Linked DNA regions of Homo sapiens: region 1 is linked to region 2. Evidence: promoter capture Hi-C in human tissues and cell types (Jung and others, 2019). All regions are on one chromosome and are shown on one strand. The core of a region is centred on a gene start or on the middle of the fragment in contact, and the rest is flanking DNA. Distances in the headings are between cores, read along the strand shown. Region 1 holds the start of PARP6 (poly(ADP-ribose) polymerase family member 6). Region 2 holds the start of NEO1 (neogenin 1).

Evidence for each region. The method cuts DNA at HindIII sites, captures the fragments that hold promoters and counts their contacts. A contact is called where the count stands out against the background at its distance.
Region 1: the fragment with the promoter of PARP6 here is called in contact with the fragment with the promoter of NEO1 in region 2 in 1 of the 25 tissues and cell types used here (hippocampus).

What each region holds. Positions count from the first base shown.
Region 1 is chr15:72,271,059-72,273,989 of GRCh38, reverse strand. It overlaps PARP6 (poly(ADP-ribose) polymerase family member 6), which reads left to right and starts at 1,436. Exons shown (of 24, transcript NM_001323532.2): 1 at 1,436-1,597; 2 at 2,703-2,931. RefSeq lists enhancers at 934-1,023, 1,084-1,133 and a silencer at 1,274-1,693. The HindIII fragment of the contact is 3,446 bases long and covers 245-2,931 here.
Region 2 is chr15:73,051,010-73,054,058 of GRCh38, reverse strand. It overlaps NEO1 (neogenin 1), which reads right to left and starts at 1,596. Exons shown (of 29, transcript NM_002499.4): 1 at 1,254-1,596. The coding sequence starts at 1,383. RefSeq lists silencers at 1,277-1,656, 1,887-2,206, 2,297-2,366, 2,427-2,476. The HindIII fragment of the contact is 9,189 bases long and covers 1-3,049 here.

The DNA.
Region 1 (2,931 bases), core at 187-2,686, 780 kb after region 2:
CATACATACTTGGTTCTCAAAAGCTATTACGGGGCCCTTGATGGTGAGTTGTTTTAGAGAGCAGGCCTGACTCCTTCCCCTACCACTCTGAACTTCCGCACTCTGAAACCGAGGTTATATTGATCCCTCACTTTTTTCAGTTACTATAAGCAGTAGATGTAACAAACTCACACCGAGACGGTGTTGTGGCCCAGGCTGAGTGGCAAGGTGAGCAGAGGGGGACATCAAAAGGGGAAGGAGTTAGAAAGGAGAGGCTGAGAATGTGCAAATGTAAATCAACCAACAACAAAAAGTTAACTGGGAAACTTCTGAGGCCAGCTTAGGAGGGATAGACATGACGTGTTTATATCATTCAGGGCCAAAGCCTTCTTTGTGTGTACTGTGTCCAGCTACAAAGAGGGAGTGAGGAAACAGAGTAGGTCTAAGATAAGCCTTTTCCCATTAGTGTTGATGGAAAAGAGGGTCACGTGGAAGCCCCAAGACTAATAAGGATGAAGGAGATCTGGCCATGTCTAGGGTTAATAACCACAATAACCACAATTACAGCTTCCATGTATGAACTACTTCCTAGTCCCAAGTACTCTGCTGGTTACTTTACATGGATTAGTTGGAATCGTATGAAATTGAAGGTATCTGACTGTTTATAAACTGCAAAAATAGCAATTTCCTACGGTTCAACCTAACACTATCTCAGTTCATCCTCACCACAACGGCTCCGTGAAACACATATTACTGTCTCCACCTCAAAGAGGAGAAATCAGATTCACAAAGTGAAAGTCATCGCTTAAGGCTGCACCATCAATAAGTGCCGAACCCAAGCTTCAGACCCAGATTGACTAGAAGGCCAGGGTGCTCTCCATCACGCTGCAGCTACCGGGGAACAAATGAGTTAAATGCCAGAATTTTTAAAAGCCCGAGGTGTTCGACTTCCATTGTCGAACCAGAGAATCCTGCAGTCAGCAAGGCCTCAGGACTTCCCTCAGTCTCTACCTGCCGGCCCCAACCTCCGGCGAGGGGACTCCCTCCCGGCCTACAGGCAACCTGGGTTGCCCTTCCTGCTTGTTCCTCCCAACCACTCGGGGCGCTAAATGCAAGTATTCTCCTTTGGAAGGCTCCCCGCACTCCCCCAGAGTCCCTCTTCCTTCTCCACTGCCTCCCCTACCCACGGCGCAGGCGCCACCCCCCACTCCGCACCCTTTCCCGACTAGCGACCGCCGCGCAGGCGTCTCAAGGCTGGCGTCGGCTGCTGAGGCGCGCCCAGGAGCAGGCCGTCAGGCTGTTGGTCAGGAGCGGGCCACGTGCCATCGTGTCACCGCGCGAGCGTGCGCAGAGTGGCTGAGCGCGCCCGTGACGGAACGACGAGGCGTGGGGTGCGCGACCTCGCCCGCCAGGCCCGGCCCCCGCCCCTTGGCCTGCCGCTCCGCCCCCGCGGGGCGTCCCGGGCCGCTCGTCCCGTCGGCTGCGGCCGCGCGCGGCCCGGGGTCGCCGTGAGTACTCGCCAGGCTGGCCTGTGTGGCCGCCACCACGGGCACAGGGCGGTGCGGCCGGGCCACGGGAAGGGTGCGGGGCTCGCCCCGTCTCCGCAGGGGTGGACGAAGTGAGAGGCTTGGACCGGGAGGTTCTGAGGGCCCCTCCTAGGCTGGACAGGCTTCACTCAGGCCCGGCGGCCGGGCGGCATAGATCGGGCCCAGAGCGTCTTTCCTGGGGAGGCAGGTGTTGGGTGTTTTTGGGGTCTTCAGGGGAGCCCCGGAGAACAGGTGTAACTGCTTCCCCGGGAGAGGCCTCAGGGCCTGTCCTGGAAGCACGGGTGCCAGAGAGTGTTTTCGCGGGGCAGCCGTGTCCTCTCTCCCTGCGGGGTGCCCGAGATAGCGCTAACCTGCGGGAGTCGCCCCTCAGTGATTCTTCCTAGTAGTCTTTGTTTAGTGGCCTACTCCTGAGAAGGGAGCACACGGGATGGAGTGGAGTAACCTCCTCCAGGACCACAAAGCCGGGAGCCCAACCCACAATTTAAACATTGAGCTCTGAAGCTGCTTTGACTAGACGTGAAGTTGTCACACCTAGAGAAGCGCCCATGGACCTAGGGAAAGACCTTTGTGATCCAGACTTGAGGCTCATTTACATTTGACTTATTCTCGTGGAAACTCATAAAGCGTTCTATATTAGCCGCTGAGTTTTAACACCTTCTCTGGACACTCATCATATAGTCTATTTTTGGCCCAACTTCTTTTGAAAGGGCCCATTCTTTACCTCATTTAGATAAATCAGATAGGTCTTTCTTGCTTACTTCATTAACAACTCAATTAATTATAACCACATCACATGAAGATTAGATGTAATTAGGACCTGTCCAATGTCTTTACATCCCAGTCCTTCTGTACTCCTAACCTTAAGCAAATTGGTCGACCTCTGTAGGTCTAAGTATTCTGTGTGTAACATGAAAGCTTTGAATTAGGCCACGTTTCCGGCTAATTTTTTAAAAAGTGTTTGTGATCCTGTGAATTCCATAACCCACCACCTTCCTTTTCCAACTCTTCACCTTTTAAATCCACTTTCCATCTCTCCAGAGGAAAGGGCATTGAGAGTAGAGGAAGCAAGTCCCTTTCACTAAAGCAGCCTGGTTTGAAAAAGCCGGTAATCTCTGAACTGTCTCTTGCTTGAACAAGAAAAACTCCCTCTGAAATACCTTTTTCTCCTTGTGATAGCAACAGAAACCAAGCAGCAACAGCCCTTGGAAAGAGGCTAAATTTTTCTTGACTTCTGCAGCAACAAAGACCGTGAAAAGTTGGCACTTCTGGCCTAACGCTGCCGTCATCCTACCCCTCACCCCAGGGCAACCCAGGCTGGACATTTAGTGCCTCCCTCTTTATTCCTCTGTGATCATCCAGATCAGCACTTGACTGTTTATTTTCAAATCTCACGAACCTCACCCCA
Region 2 (3,049 bases), core at 347-2,846:
GACATTAAAACACTATTGTTTACGTAGCTGTTTAGAGAATACCGAGTGGTACTTTACGTTTAAAGCTGTTCTTTAACATTGGCAAAAGCCATGAGCTACATACACACTCTGCAAGGAAATGAAAAGTTTATCAGTCAAGTTACCTTGCAGTGTGATTTTAAATATTATTTCATATAAATCAGGGAAAAACAAGTACTGGTTCAGCGGTAAGACTGCTTTCAAATGTAAAAATATCATATCTCACACGAGTGAAAGTTTTGTCAAGTTTTATGGTACACCACCTTGGTCAAATAATTTTAACAGATTACATGCTAATTTGCCTTTCAACTGCTGAGTGTATCCTGCTCAACAATACCGTAAGGTCCTTCCCGGAAGGCTTGGCATTTTTGTTCGTTGGTCCCCTTAATAGGAATGCAGGTGGTTTCAGTAATCTATAATATTCCAAAAAAGAACTGAAAATGGCTTTTGAGGTTCAATGTTTATACAATGCCATCTGAAAACATTGTACAAGTACCTAAAATCTGATGCTTAGACAATTCCCTTGGTTAAGAGTGGTTAATAGGCTGTAAATATAGTTGTAATCCCCAGGAAAGAAGAGGCATTTCATAACGGAAACACTAACAGATACGATCACTCCGAGCCGCTCTCCAAGGCGTCCTCATCGTTAAATCAACACCAGGGGTTGTGAGCGGGCAATTGTGCCCCTCTGACACCCCCGCTCTTCCGCAGACTCGGGCTCCAATCCCCGCGCGAGGAGTCCCTCGAGACTAGCCAGCTCTTCCTCGAGACTTCGGAAGCTGGGAAATCCCTGGCCAGGGAACCAGGAGCTCAAGCCCCCTCCCCTTTCCTTTCCTGAAAATTAATGAATTGGCCGTCTGATTGTTTATTTAATGAGGTGTGTAGTGGCCTCTACTGGTGCTAGTGTGAGCACAAGAATGTCCCACTCTTACAAGTGGGATGAGCCTGGGGGAGGGGAGAGAGGCGAGGGGTGAACCTGCCTCCAGGTACAAAGCTGGGAACTAGACCCCTGCGCCCCCGACCTGCCCCCCGGCAGCCGCCCCTTCCCCGGTGGCGCCCCCTCTCGCCCTTCTCCTCCCCACCACGCGCGATCCCCTTTCTCTTCGGCAACCGGAGCCGAGGCAGAGAAGTTCCTGCACGTTTCCTCCTGGATCCTAAACAAAAACACCGCAGCCGCGGCCGCCTGAGCCGGTGCCGCGCCCCCGCGAACCCCCGGGCCCGCGCCCGCCGCTTACCTGGGGACTGCGGCGCGGAGCCGCTCCTGGCGGCCGCGGCGCCCGGCGCCCGGCGCCCGAGCAGCAGCAGGCAGTAGAGCCAGAAGGAGGGGGTGCTGAGGAGTCGCCGGGCTCCCCGCTCCGCCGCCATCTCTTCCCCGAGAGTGAGCGGCAGCGGCGGCGACAGCGCCGCGGAGCCCTTGCCTCCTTCCCTCCCGCGCGCCTCAGCCGGTCCCTCGCTGCAAGCTCGGCTCCCGCGGCCGCCGCTGCTCCAGCCCAGCCCGGCCCGGCCCGGCCCGCGCAGCCCCTCTCGCTGGAGGGGAGACTCCAGGGCGCCTCCCTCCTGCAAGGGGGCGGGGAGGGGAGGAGAGCGAAGAAGGGGAGTCAGTACATTCCGGGGCGGGGGGGGGGGGGCGGTGGGTCGGTCTCCAGGTTCCAGGCGCCGCCACCCGCCGCCGACTCCGGCTCCACACACCAGCGCGAGGGGGGCGGAGACCGCGGACGGCGGGGGCGGGGGCGGGGGCGGGGGGCGGGAGTCCCGGGCGCGCACACGCGCACGCGCGCGCCTCGCCCGCACCCCCTCGGCTCCGCGCGCGGCCCGCCCCCGCTCCAATCCCGGCTGCCGCCTCTCGGGCCGTGGCGGGCCCGCTCCCCTCCCCCTTCTCCCCGGAGCCGCTGACGGGTGCGGGGCGCGCGCGCCGGGCGCTGCTGCTGGCGTCAGGGAAACCCCGGAGAAGCGGATCCTCCTGCTCCTCCCGCCCGCTCGCCGCAGCCCCTCGGCTCCGCGCGCCCCCGCCTCCTCCTCCTCGCCTCGGGGACAAATTCCCCCCTCACCTCCCCAGATGCCTCTGGCTGCAGAGACCTGAGGGCGAGAGGCGCTCCGAGCTCAGGCTGGTCCGGGAGGCCGGCGTGGGCGCGCACCTCTGCACAGTCCGGGCCTGGAGCCTCTATATAGGGCCTCAGAGGAAACCGAAAGGCCTCCGGGAGGAAACCTGGGTGCGCAGTGGGTCGGCCCGGGGATTTATGTGCTCGCCAAAAACAATAGCGATCCCGCCCGACTCTTGCTGGGCCCTGGCGCGGCTCCCGTGGGAGGGGGCCGGCCGCGCAGCCGCTGACCTCCGGCTCCCAAGCCGGGCCGCCGTCGCCGCGCGCTTCCCCCGGGCAGCGCCGGGACCCGCCCGAACCGCGCCCCCACCCGCATCGCTCGGCCCGGGTCCAGGGAACTAGGCACAGACAAAGGTGCCCGCTGTCCACTTCCTCAGCTCGTGCGGGGGCCCCGACCGAGCCCTGGGACTCCCCGGGGCCAGTCTTCTCGCAGTAACTGCTACGTTTTACCTGTACCTTTGCGGGACACTTGGCGTTTTCCTACCTGGGAATCACGTCTTTCGCTGATAAACCAAGGAGCAAGTGGGATATGATTTTAAACCACTTAGTAATCGTGAGGCAGCACCCAGGCTACACAAAGTTAGGAGAAAGCAGTTTGTAGTTCCACTGCTGATGAGACTATTGATCATTTTATATACTGCACCCATGAAAAATTTTTAAAGAAAATTTATTTGTATGATTATGCAAGCAGAGTCACGTTTGGTGGTTGATAGGCGTTGGGTTTTATTCACTCTTCTGTGTAGTCGATAACCGAAATGTCTTGCTTCCCACAAGAAAATGGCTATTTCACTAACATATCCCTCTGTGCTTTCTCATAGTTACTTTCCAAAGATATTTTATTCTAAAGCGCCAAAATGAACAATGTAAGACATGGATTAACGTCGGGAGGGAAGAGCTCAGAATCTTCATAAAACCTTAAATCATCAAAACGG